2 separate regions of the Homo sapiens genome follow, and region 2 is linked to region 1. Evidence: promoter capture Hi-C in 16 types of primary human blood cells and fetal thymus (Javierre and others, 2016). All regions are on one chromosome and are shown on one strand. The core of a region is centred on a gene start or on the middle of the fragment in contact, and the rest is flanking DNA. Distances in the headings are between cores, read along the strand shown.

Region 1 (6,393 bases), core at 302-2,801:
GGGATGGGCAAGTGACATCACAGCAACCAAGGCAGCAAGCGAAATTTTAAAATAGAAAGTCAATAGAGGCGTTAGAATTTAGAACCACTACCACTGATGCAAAACACATACACATGCACTTACTGCTTTTGAAAAAATAAGTGAAACCTACATTAACAAAGTTATTCACATAGAACCTGAAACAAACAAAAATCTAGTCCAGTGATATACTTTAATTTCGCTTTTCCATAATACTGGTATTCCATAGAAGAAAATCTTTTATTAATATTCTATACTACTACATCCGACACCAGATGACTAAAGTTTGCAATGGTCCAAAATTCTGTAAACCCATTAAATGCAATTCATACTTTATTTTGGCAGTATTCATTTCATCATTACTTTATTTGGATGCTAACGCAAGTACTTCTAAGGAAAAGCTGTCATATAATTACTTTAGTCAAGCATTCAGTAGAGCAATAATCAAACCTCTATCCCAACATTTTACACTTGTAACAGAATGAAGATGAGTACAACATACATTTTTGCAATTTACTATTAAGGCCATAATCATTTTAGGGCATTAGACCTATATATATATATATATATATATATATGCACACTTTTAATTAACTCTGACATACAAATACATGGCTATTTATGAGAAAGGCAGGTATTAAAACCGAGGCAAGTTTGTGTTTCTCATTAAGCAGCTGGTGACTTAATTCGCTGCATCATTCTTTCTGAATTACAGAACGCTATGGCAATTATCGTGCCATTAACAGGCAAAAATCTCAGTACTTTTTAACAAACATAATGATAAAAAGAACCCTGTGATTTCATATCGTAAGCCACTTACACCACATTTTAAGGGAAAAGTGATGAGCAAAGGTGTGGTAGAACAGGTTTGGCTTTTTGATAAACAACATTCATTAGACACCGTTTCCAAAGGAAACTTCGAAGTTGGTGAATCATATTAAAACGCTTGAATATAAAAGCTTCCAGGTTATTACTGGCAGTGTCAGAATACGATTAAAGGTCGGATAATAGTTTGAAGCAACCTTGAACTGATTGCTGCATGTGCAAAGGGGAGAGAGAAAAATCAATGAAAAGGAGTAAGGTATCAATCTCCAAAACAACCCACCGAAGAAACGTTTGCCAAGGGAGGAGCGAGCCTTTTATTAGAGTTATTATTATTATTATTGGCGTTCTCTTCCCTTGCATTCCCATGTAAAGCCCGAGTAGCCCCCTTAAAACAACCCCAATTTTTCAATGACGGTGTCGCGGGGCTGCGCGCTCCGTTCACCTTGCAGAGCTGAAAGTGCTCGGACTGGAGCGTTTCCTGGATCTCCGGCTCCCGGTTCCCAGGCGGATGCTGCTGCTGTTGCTGCTGCGACGCCGAGGACGAGCCGGCGGTCAGGCCGTCCAGCACCTTCCTGATGTTGAATTTCCTCATGGTCTCGGAGGGGCTCCCCCGCAGCCCGGGAGGGGAGGCACAGGGGGTCCCCGGGCGGGGGAGACCACCCGGGGCCGAAGGCAGCTTCGACCGCGGAAACGGAGGAGTGGGAGTGTGAGGGTAAGGAGGCAGCTGGGGGGAAGCAAAAGATAATCCGAACAGGAAATACTGCGACGACAAGAGCGGCGGCCGCAAGAAACCTGGGCGGCGACCCCTCTTCCTCCGAGGCCGCCGCTGCTTGGCGCGGCTGCTGTGGTGCCGATTCAGCCGCCGCCGCCGCCGCCTCGCTCCGCGGCCCGGCAGCAGCAGCAGCAGCAGTGGCGGCGGCGCCCGAGCCCGCTCAGCCCAGCCTCACCTGGCCGCGGGCGGACTCTGCGCCGCGCCGCCGCCCCGGCTCGCCCCCGGCGCCGCCACCGTCGCCGCTGCGTCCATGGCCCGCGGCCGCGCCGCTGCTCGCCCGCCCCGGCCCCGCAGTCCCTCGGCGCGTCCTCCGGCTCCTTCTCCTCCTGCCGGGGGTCGCCGGCTCTCTGTCCGCGGCCGCCGCTCGGCCTCGCACACAAGGCGCCTGGTGTGGGTCCCCGCGCCGCCTGCCTCGCCCCGCCTCGCTCCTCCGCCGCTGGACCGGCCCGCCCTCGCCGCTCCCGAGCCCGGCTGCGTTCCTCAGGCGCCGCCGCGGCCGTCGGCTCTCCCCGCCCAGCCGCTCCCCATCGCCTGACAGGGCGCCTCGGCACACGGCACCAACGCCCGCCCGGAGCAGCAGCGGCAGCCGCGGTTACAGCGCGGGCCGCGGCGGTGGCGGCAGCAGGGCCTCCCAGGAGCCGGGCTGCGGTACCTGCGCATGCGCGCCGCAGCCCGGTTCCCCCACCCTGGCCCAGCAGGCCCCCAGCCCCCCAGCCCGAGCGAAGCTGGGGCTTAAATTATCTTCTGCGAAAATCCCAGACGCTGGCTAAATTTCTCCCACCCCAGTCGAGTTGCCAGAGTATGCAGCTGCTTCTCTTGCAGCTGGCATAGTAAAAATGTTGACGACTAACAAGCAGCAGGAAACCTTTCTTTCCAATTCAGTCATTACAGCAGGGGTTGATGCTTTCTCGCCGTTAATGGGGTGCACGCTCCTGGCCGCTGGCTGCAGTATTATTTTTCTTGCTTTATTGACGGGCGTTGTTTTTGTTTGATTGGATTTGAGTTTTGAAAAAGAGCGTCTAGACAACGATATGTCAGTGGCAGGAGGATGATGGACTTAGGTACTAGGAAAAGGAGAGAAACCTAGACGGGAAAAAACGGGTTCTTTCCTACAGCTGTTACTGTTGGTGGAACGTGTCTGGTCTTAGCAGTTAGCTGCTGGGATGGAAGAGGCTGCCAGCGGGGAACGGTTCCAGGGCCGGTGTCAGCCCGGGCCGATGACACTACCCCGCACCCAGCCCCTCGCCGGGGAGGAGCGCGGGTGGCAGGAAACGCCGCGCTGCCACTATTTTTCAGAACCTTCAATCTGCCCTGACGCTGATGAGCCACTCAGTAATGCCCTGGGAGCTTCACTCTAGAACGGGGAAAGGGGGATAGGATGAAGTTTTTGCTCAGATCTTTCCGAGGCCGCACTGCCCATCTCGCGTGAATGCTTGGAGACAAATGCCTGGCTCAAGTTGGAAAAGACAGACAAGAGATTGTGCCGGGGAAACCCCCCGGAGAGTGCGTTCAACAGGACAGGTGGACGGAAGCACAGGTACTTGATTAGGAAGGATGTGGAAATAGGAAAGACGTAAGGAAGGAAGGAAGTGCAGGAAGACTAATCCTAATTCGGGGAGAGGGGGACAGGTTCCTAGCGAATGACTCCTCGCGCGCTCTGGTCTGCGGAAAAGCCACGGAACCGCCACAAAGGGTTTTTTTAAGTTCCAAACCTGTCAGAAGCACCCGCCCTCTTCTTTGTGAGGTCGGCTCCCTCTCCTTTAGGGAAATTCTCGTCACCCTATTGGTTGAGTTAACCAGCATTCAAAAGCAGTCAGCGAACCAACTACGACTGGGCCCAGGGATTTCGGGAAATGTAGTCCACTCTGCAGCTTCCGCATCCCAGGACGATGTCTTGCATTTGGAACCTACAAAATTTTGATTTGTCGTTTAATATTTATTGAATTAGTTGATTCGCTGGGTGCAACGACCAAGAAAACAAATGTGAGGACATTCCTAAACTATTTCCAAGTGGCTCTGAATTTTTTATTAATTTAGTTCTCTAACATTTTGTTGTCAGGCGGTGTGCTAGGTACTAAAGACACGAAAATGCAATCCTTGCTTTCAGCAAGCTCACTACGGTCTAACGGAGACGACTTTTAACATAAATAGTAATTGTAAAACGATGTGATGAGTCCAATGATGGAATAATGAAGGAGGACGGCAGAGGGCCACTTAACTGGCCAGGAAGGCTTGGACATGGTGACGCCCACCATAGATCATGCCGGATAAGGAGGAGCAGACCTAGCGAACAGGAGGCAAAGACCATTGGAAGACAATGGGGAAGAGAGCCTCAGAATTACCTTGAGAGCTTTTTAAAAGTACATGTGATTCCACAGGGGGAAATTGCAAAACAGACAGATCACAACCCCATAGAATTGTATGATCTGCCTTTTTACTTACCTAGGTCTAAAATAAATCTATTGGATAATTTTTCATCATTGGATTATAAAACTTTCTAGAAAAAAAAGACAACTTCTTGTTGAGAGGCTTTGTGGTGTAGTGGGAAAATATAGGCTTTGTTGTCAGCCAGCCATGAACTTCAGTCCAGGCCATGGTAATATGTGTAATCTTGGGCAAATTTTAAATTTTTCTAGGGATCAGATTCCTCAGGTTTAAAATGAGATTAATACCACCTTCTTAGAAATTTATGAGCATGAACTGGAGGGGGAAAAGAAAGAATATGAAAAGTTTGTACTGCATTGCTTAGTACTCTGTAGACACTCAAAAATGTCAGTTTCCTATTCTATCAGGGTCCTTGAGGTAAAGGGGACTTCAAAGAGTCACCAATTTAAGCCAGTTTCCTACTTCTGACTCTAGAATGTTTGTTTTTATTTCTATACTCTATCTTTTCCATCAGGTTATGAACTCATTCTGACATTCTCAAAATTTCAGTTCTTAGTGAATACCTGGAATTTAAGATGGATATAGCCTACCTTTGTGAACTTGCAGTCCATCCTCTGTGCTCAGAGACACGGGGACTTATCCGAAAATCCAAATGGCCAAAACCAACAATGGCCCAAAATAACGACCTTTATTATAGCAAAGGTAAAATAATCGATCCTCAAACTCACAGTAATTCTTATAAGTCAGTTAGAATTAATCAATTTGTTTTTTCAAATTAGAACTGAAATTTTGAGAATTTTATTTGGAATTAAACATTTTAAGTTTAGAATTAAATACATTAAACTAAATAATCTATATTATTCATTTTTAAATTGAGCACAAAACAGAGAATTTTACCCATCATAATTTCTCAGAAAAGTTGTGTTTATTTGTTTTATTTGAATGAATGAGTAAGTATGTTGATTTCAAGCAATTCAATAGCTTCTGCCTTTAGGTGACATTCTCCTGAATGAAATTATTTCTTACCTGTTTGAAGAATGGACCATAAGGTGATGATGTAATAGTATACTACTGACAAATTATAAATATATATCTTACATTTAGCTGAGTCAAGGTGGCACTAAAAAATATTCTGCCAACACAATGAAAATAATAAGACAACTTTTTAAGAAAACGAAACTACACATACACTAAAAGAATGTTAGCATATGAAATTGACAGGTGCAGAAGACTAAAGACCAAGAATTCATAACATTTCTGAATCTATCAGTCCTCATTATCCAGTTTAAAGGTTACCAGACTAATGCAGGACCTGGTACAGATCGCAAAGGTAAGCTGGATGCTGATTGAGATGGAGAAGGCAGAAACTGAAAATAAACATTTTAATGAGAAATTATTTAATGGCAAAAGCTTTCTGGAAAGTAGAACAAATCTACCTCACTTGCTAGCATTCATTTTTATTGACTTAGTTTCAGTTTATTGAGTCCTGAAGGCTGTGTGCATGACAATAATTAATTCACTACATAGTTTAATAGACTATTGAATTTAAATTATTTGGAAATTGCAGCACAGATGTTAATTAGTTGGTTTGTCTAGTTCAAGCCACCTTTTCTGAATGAGTTCCCTAGCCCCTGCTAAATGACGGGCCTGGGCAACTCTATTTTAATCAGGTCCCCTTGTTTCCTGGTCCAAACCACTAGGATCTGAGACTGAAACCAGAAATAAGGCAAGCCAAGAGATAATCTTCTGGGAATTTGGAACTGGATTACAAAATTACAAATTAATCTGAATGAGGAGGAAGCCATGTTGTCCTAGGGCTAGGTAGTGTGTTTTATTTCCTACACACCACAGCTGAGTGTACCCATTCTTAGACAGAACTCGGGAGGATGGAGCAGACACAGAGATGACAGAGAATGACCACCAGTGACCCAAGGAGGTCGAGAGTAGAATCTTGATTTCTGACTTTCTGGTTCCCGAATCTTATGCTTTATGGAAACTTGAGACATTCTTTCCTTCTTTGCGTTAAGTAGTTTGGTTATATTTCTGGTTTTTGCAATCAAATATTCTGATAGCAGTTTAGATACAACTTGCATCTAATTGTAAAAGAAAGTAGAGATCATTGCAGCCATCTGTCACTCACCATTTTTACCTTCTACTGTCAGTTCTTCCTACAGTGAAGAGATGGCTGCAATAATCCAGCAAGGGGTTGGTGGCTTGGACCAGAATGGTTAAAAGTGATTGTAGTGCACAGGGGGTTAGATTCGGGGTTATATTTTAATGGTAGAGCCAAACGGATTTGCTGATGGTATGGGGGTATCAGAGACAGGAGAGGTAAATATGATGCCTCGAGTTTTGGCCTGAGCACTTCAAAGTGTGGTACTACAATTTCATTT
Region 2 (6,938 bases), core at 2,557-5,056, 5.1 Mb after region 1:
TCCTGAAAAGAGACAAACTCCAGGTGACTCCCTGCATCCCCCATATACAATTCCAGGTGACTCCCTGCATCCCCCTTATACAAAGTTCTACCTCCTTCCCCTCAAATTAGAATGCTCTTTTGGAACCTTTCATGCTTAGCTTTTTTTTTTTTTTTGGAGATGGAGTTTCGCTCTTGCTGCCCAGGCTGGAGTGCAATGGCACGATCTCAGCTTACTGCGACTTCTGCCTCCCAGGTTCAAGTGATTCTCCTGCCTCAGCCTCCCAAGTAGCTAGGATTACAGGCATGCGCCACCACACCCAGCTAATTTTGTATTTTTAGTACAGACAGGGTTTCTTCATGTTGGTCAGGCTGGTCTTGAACTCCCGAATGAAGGTTTATTTTTTGCTCTGGCTGGTTTTCTTCAATGTAAGACCAGGAAAGATAGGAAGGTCTATCCAATGCCTTAATTAATGGAGGCTTCACTAACATGGGTAATTTGAATTGTCTCTTTTGTCTGGACACCCTGGAGGATTTTCCACCTTCTCTTTCAAGGCAATACAACATAAAAGCACTCAGGATGCGTGAGAGTATGCCGTTCTTCATTAAAGTGGGAGAAGGACAATTGTGAACAGGATGTAGGAAAAGATAAGCAGCATATTATATACTACTTTGCTACCCTGACCACAGGAGCTTTGTTAAGAACAGTTTTTGGAAGGAAAACATGGAAGTCAAGAATTGGAAAATTGATTCCTTTGGAATTATTTGCCTACTCCAGTTTGGAGAGCGCTGGTCTAGCATGACTAGCCCACAATTGTAAGGAAAGAAGTCACCAAGAGCAGTGTTCTGTTGAAAAGCAGAATCAGGCCCACAAATATAGCAGCTACAATGTTATCAAACAGCAAACATAAATCCATATATTTAAAGTGTTCACAGAAATAGAGTGGTTAAAAATATCAGTAACAAGAAACTATCAGAAATGGCCAGGCCAATATGAAAACCAAAAGAGAACACTAAAATAAAAAATTAAAGTAGAAATTCAATAAAAGGGTTAAACAATAAAATATAGGGAGGTGAAGATAAACCTCAAGAAATTACACAGAATGCAGCACAGAAAGACAAAGAGATAAAAAAAAATGACAGAATCAAGAGACAAGGAAGTTAAATGGGAGAAGTGCAAAACATGTCTAATCAAACTTTTATGAGAGAATAGAAATATAAGCAATATTTGAACAAATAATAGTAGAGAAAATTTTCCAAAATTGATTAAAAACACCCATCTACAGATGTAGAAAGCCAAAGTCCCAAACAAATACACGAAAAGAAATGAAAGCCTATAAAATCAGAAGGTTAAGTCCTAAGAGATTCATACAATGATTGATAACATTTTTAAATTAAGAACTTCTGAACATCAAAGGTCTTCAGAGTGAAAAATCAAACTGAAATGGGAGAAGATATTTACAACACATATAACAAAGGATTAACATCTAACATTATTAAGACAAGACTGTGACAGATAAATGGGCAAAAGCAATAAACAAGTATTTCAAAACCGAATCACAAATGGTTAATTAACATATGAAAAGATGCTAAACCTCATTAAGACTCAGAGAATTGCAGATTTCGCTCCAATGAGACACCACCATTTCACACCCACCAGATTGTCAAAAATTAAAAAGTTTAATAACATCAAATGTGATAGGCATATTAGTGTTCATTTTATTATTCCTTAAACTGTCTGCACATTACATATGCTTTTATATGTACATGTTTCATAACTAAAATTGTTAAGTGTCACCTGAGCAATAAAAATATTTCTTCATAAGCCTGATGAGAGCAGTTTCAGTGAAATACTGGGCATGAAAACCAGACTGCATGGGCTGAAAGGCTCTACAAGATAAAGGCGTAAAGCTAACTTATGGACAACTATTTCAAACTTACCTATAAGGCTGGAAAAGCAGAGCTGCAACTTTAGGGAATGATATGGTGAGAGTTTATGTTATATTTTTAAATAAAGGAAACTGGATTAGGTTTAGAAAAATCTAGAGGGAAAGGACGACAGTGAGTAAGGTGTCCCTGGTTTGTCACAAAGATACATGATACAGGGATCGGGAACAGGAATTTCCTTTAGGGATGAGAGATTCTTTGACCTTATCCCATCACTCCCAAGCCCCATCCACTCCAGTCACAATAGTCTACTTACTCCTCCTTCCAGCAAGCCTCTACTTCGGGACTTTTATAACCTCTATGGAGAATACTCTTTCCCAGATGGTGCAAGGTATGCCTTTCACTCTTTTATTTCCCCAAATGTCAATTCAGTGAAGTGTTCCTGACCACTATGAAACTGAAATCCCATCTGCACTCCCTGCCACCACTACTCCTGATACTCTTATTCCTTTTCCTTGCTCTATTTGTCTTCATAAGCTTTTAATACTCTATGTATGATAGACTCTATATTGTTGAAACTCTCTACCTCCATTGTATGTAAGCTCCAAAAATGCAGCAAATGTAGTCACAGCGCCTACTAATGCTTGATACAAAGGTAGCTCAATGAACACATACTGAATGAATATGGACCCTGCTTGAGGAAACTGAAGAACAAGTATAATAAAAATGATGCTGTAAAATTTGAACAAAATGAAGTAATGCACAGAGAATAATCAATTTGCTGCCCACAGAAGTGGTGACATTTGGGTTAGATCTTGAATCATGAGTTTGCCAAGTGCAAGAAAAAGGTGCACATTCCAAGAGAGTGGAAGATGGTAGGTCTGAAAAGGCCTTGCACATTTGAGAAACAGGGTACATTTGGAGTATGGCAGAGATAACAGTGACCAGATTTTAGCTAACCTTACAATATACACAACAATGGACGCATTATATCCAACTTCTCAACTCTAAATATCCTTTTCAGAATTATAATTGTCCAGTTACTTGTTTTATTTGCAGTAAAGTTAAGAGTACAGAATACAAAATAAAGTTAACACAGAATTACTGGCACTCCCTTTACTCACTACAAGTTTGAGCAGAGTTAACCTATATTTTTTTTAATCAAACTGTAAATTCAACGTATAACACTCAAAGTGAAAATACTGCTTTCAAAGGTCTCAACAGCGGGTATTATTCAAAGAAGTCAAAACTAAAAATTCTGCATGGTAGGAGAGAGCAGCTGGGTGGGGAAAGGTCAAATTCAACTGCTTATTTAGTAGCAGATACTCCCCATTTAACCAAATGAGTTTCTGATTGGGCTTGCATGCTGTCATAAATAATATTCACTTATTACTATGTTTTCAACTAGTCTATCGTCCTTTTATCCACATCACTCCTTCTTTCGGACACTCACCTTCGTTTTAAACCTAACTCAATTTATTTTCAGGATTCCTATTTGAGACAAGAAGCTCTTGTGTGTACACACACAGAGAAAACCTTGGAAGATTATATTCCACAGTTCAAGAGCCTGTGTAGTCAGTACTGGAGCATTTAAGCACAAGATAGGAGAAGCAGTGGACACCATGGTGTTTTGGGATTCCTACTGCCAGGGGGTGGGAACCCAGGGAGTTCCCTGGGTAGGCTCGAGGTCAAAGCTCAGGTTTAAAGCGAGGGGGGCGGGGCATGCCCCAAGAACCTCAGGGAGGTGTGTGGGCCCTAAAATGCAACTGGGAAAGAAAGGGCGCGGCCACTCGGAAAGACTCACAGTAATAAGCCACCACAGGGTCTCGCTTGTCATGCTCCTGAGCCGTCCTCAGATGATGCTGTATGCTCTTGAACTGTGCGGGGAGCGGGGGCAGCGGTGCAAGCGCGGCCATCTCTACTCCGAACTCACCACTTCCTACTCGCGCTCCACCGGCACTTCCGCTTCCGTCTGGGCGGTAGCGCGCACGAGCGTTCAGAGCAAATGCTGCCCACTCTTCCGTTGCTCAGCGACGTCAAGTCAACTACGGATCCCCAGCTGGGACAACCTCAGGGTGCTTGGCTCTCGGCGGTTAGAACCCACAGAAGACCCGAGCATTTTGGCGCTTATGCCGCGCATGGCGCTAGCGCTCTCTGCTGGTAGGAGGAAGGGTTTTTGTTTTGTTTTGCTTTTTTGTTTGGTTTGTTGTTTGTGGCAAAAGGAAGGATAGAAAAGGAAAAACAAGAAAATAATGTATGTTGACTGGGAGAAAGTATAAAGGCGAGAATTGCCTTTGGCGTCATTCAGGAATTACCACTTCCAGTTAATATGCCACATTAATATTCCATATAGCAGTGTCCTTTAGAAGCCTTTTTGATTTTAGAAACTTTAATTTCAATACTTGCATGAGAGAGAAATAATGTGTTTAAATTGTAAATTAAATTTTTCTATGTTGACATACTGGATAAAATAATCAGATTTCGCGCCAAATTAAGCTAAACATATGAAGCTTAAAGAAGATTGAACTTTTGTTCTCAGCTGGCTAGTACGTATTTTAGTGAATGAATAATCTGTAGATCACCTTTTTTTTTTCTGGAGAGTGATTAACAATTTGTAAAGTATTTTCATATTTATTATCTTGTCTTAATGTAAGATAGGGTGTTTGGGACGTTTTCAACGCTGGTAACTCTTAACCATTGTACAGTAGGCATCACTTTTCCTTCTACCCTCAATGACTTCAATTCTCTTCCTCTCCTCTCCATCCCTTACTTATATCTTTCAGGACTGTACACTTTATTTACTTCCTCCAATAACCTTCTTTATTTTATCTCAGTCCTCAGTTTTGACAATTCATCTTAAAACTAGTTTTCACTGAAATCACACTATCCCCAAGAGCCAAAATCTCCAGCTCGGAAATTCCCCTCTGCCTACTATTTTCTGATCACTCTCTCACCCCCAGAAGAAACCGCTCCATGTCCTCATATTATCCCACTCCACATACGTTGCCTAGACCTATTTGCAAAGTCCATCATCTTATTCTGGGTCGGGCTTTTTTACTCAGCCTGAAACTCAGTTCTGTCTTCTTCCCCAATCTCAGCGGCATATTTCCTACCACTGGAGAATGTATGGTTTCTTTCTCTTTCTCTTACTCCCACTATTTGGACTTTCCAGTCAAAAGTTGCTAGATTGGTAGAGAAATCAATGAAGAAAAGCAGAGTTGGATAACCATAACTGTTTTCTTTCTATACTCACAACTTTTCATTTATTTGTTTCCTATTACTTCTTGATTCTCAACCGCAGCTGCCCTTAAAGATCAACTTTAAAGCCCACTCCAGGCATTCTCACTTAATTGTTCTAGGTGGGATCCTAAATGTCAGTATCTTTAAAAGGTCCTCATGTAATTTTAATGTTACGTCTAGGGTTAAGGACCAGTGCTGTAGTCCACAGATGGTGTTTCAAACTTCTCTCGCTCTATTCAAGCTAGGCACTCAGCCCCAATTTCCTTGGTCTACAACAGCATTTCCTGCTATTGAGATTAAGGCCACCACCAGATATGAATTATTTTGCCTTGCCTCTACCACAACTTAAAGTAATAATAACTAGCTAGCAGCATTTGCTGAGCATCAACTATGTATCATGCATGTTTCTAGGGTCTTTATATTAATTTATTTAATTTGCACCACAACCCTATGAGGAACATATCATTATTATTTTACAGATGAGAAAAATAAGACACATAGAATCTAGATAACTTGCACTAGGTCACAGCCAGGAAGGATGAGTATTCCACATTAAAATCTAGGTATTTTGGTTTCAGAGCCTGTGCACCTAGCCATTACTACTTGACTATGATGTCTTTCTAGATCTTATGTTTTATCTTTTCTCTATTCCATCATCTTATGTCTGAGAAACAAATGTTCCTCTTCCTGGTAGAAGGCTGCACCCTCCTGTTACTCTCCTGATCTCCCCCTTCAGAAGTGAATTTTGCCACTCTTTCTCATTTGCATACATTCATGTGTACTCTTATTTGCATACCCTCATGAGCAGGACTGAGGGAAAAATAAGAAAGTGAAATGGTTGGAGTTGGATTTTACTCTCTGATCTGCCAACACATGCTCTTTTCTTTTCTTTCTTTTCTCCTTCCTTCCTTCTTTTTTTCTTTCTTTTTTTTTTTTTTTTTTTAGACAGGTTCTCACTCTGTCACCTAAGCTGGAGTGCAGCACACTATCAGAGCTCGCTGCAGTCTTGGACTCCTGGGCTCAAGGATCTTCTTGCCTCAGCCTCCTGAGTAACTGGGACCACAGGCACATAACACTATGGCTAATTATTATTATTTTGTTGCCTAGGCAGGTCTTGAACTCTTAGTCTCAAGTGATACTCCTGCCTCGGCCTCCCAAAGTGCTGAGATTACAGACAAGAGCCTCATGCTCTCTTCTTTCTAAATATGCTAACCCTTTCATGAGATGATAATTGATTTGATGGAGAACAGTACAGAGACAGTGTTAGTGTAACACACATTGAAATTATGCTATAAAACAAATATTAATGACTGTGAGGTTGCTTTTTCTTGTTTTACTATGATATTTTACTAGAAAGACCTACATTCTTCTTCTCCATTCATCTCAGACCAGTTTCTGAAGGATCTGACATCACCCTCTAGGACTGGGCTAGAACCTTGGCAAGTAAGGGGAGGGCAGAGCTGTAGAACAAAATAGGGGGTGAGGGCAACCATAGGAAGAAGAAAATGGAGAGAAACTAGAGCTGACAGGTGTTTTGATGGGAAAAAATGTTTTACACCATACCCTACATACACACATGTATGTGTGATCATCTGACAATAAAAATATTCTGTGTCCGTTTGGTCAGAACCATCTTGTTGGCAAATGACAGGGCATCAGTCAATGTAATCAGGATAATATATATATCTATAGCTGTATCTTTTTAAGATACTGTATGTGGTAGAAATTTGGCTTCCAGTATCATGAGACTAACATCCTATTATTTTAGCATCCCCCCCAAGTAGAAATAATTTTTCCTTAAATTTTCCGCAGAAGAATGATAGGGAAGACCCT

What was found. The method cuts DNA at HindIII sites, captures the fragments that hold promoters and counts their contacts. A CHiCAGO score of 5 or more calls a contact.
Region 2: the fragment with the promoter of VTA1 here is called in contact with the fragment with the promoter of STXBP5 in region 1 in 5 of 17 cell types (total B cells, naive B cells, activated CD4 T cells and 2 more); the score reaches 13.3 in total B cells.

Annotation. Positions count from the first base shown.
Region 1 is chr6:147,199,575-147,205,967 of GRCh38, reverse strand. It overlaps STXBP5 (syntaxin binding protein 5), which reads right to left and starts at 1,551. Exons shown (of 28, transcript NM_001127715.4): 1 at 1,286-1,551. The coding sequence starts at 1,435. STXBP5-AS1 (STXBP5 antisense RNA 1) reads left to right here and starts at 1,354. Exons shown (of 11, transcript NR_034115.1): 1 at 1,354-1,555. LOC124901422 (a long non-coding RNA gene) reads left to right here and starts at 2,397. Exons shown (of 2, transcript XR_007059803.1): 1 at 2,397-3,152; 2 at 3,675-4,092. RefSeq lists silencers at 1,409-1,598, 1,769-1,848, 1,869-1,918, 1,949-2,368. The HindIII fragment of the contact is 4,433 bases long and covers 980-5,412 here.
Region 2 is chr6:142,144,131-142,151,068 of GRCh38, reverse strand. VTA1 (vesicle trafficking 1) reads right to left here and starts at 3,806. Exons shown (of 8, transcript NM_016485.5): 1 at 3,670-3,806. The coding sequence starts at 3,781. NMBR (neuromedin B receptor) reads left to right here and starts at 3,947. Exons shown (of 4, transcript NM_002511.4): 1 at 3,947-4,025. RefSeq lists enhancers at 3,105-3,625, 3,880-4,019, 3,783-4,077. The HindIII fragment of the contact is 1,973 bases long and covers 2,405-4,377 here.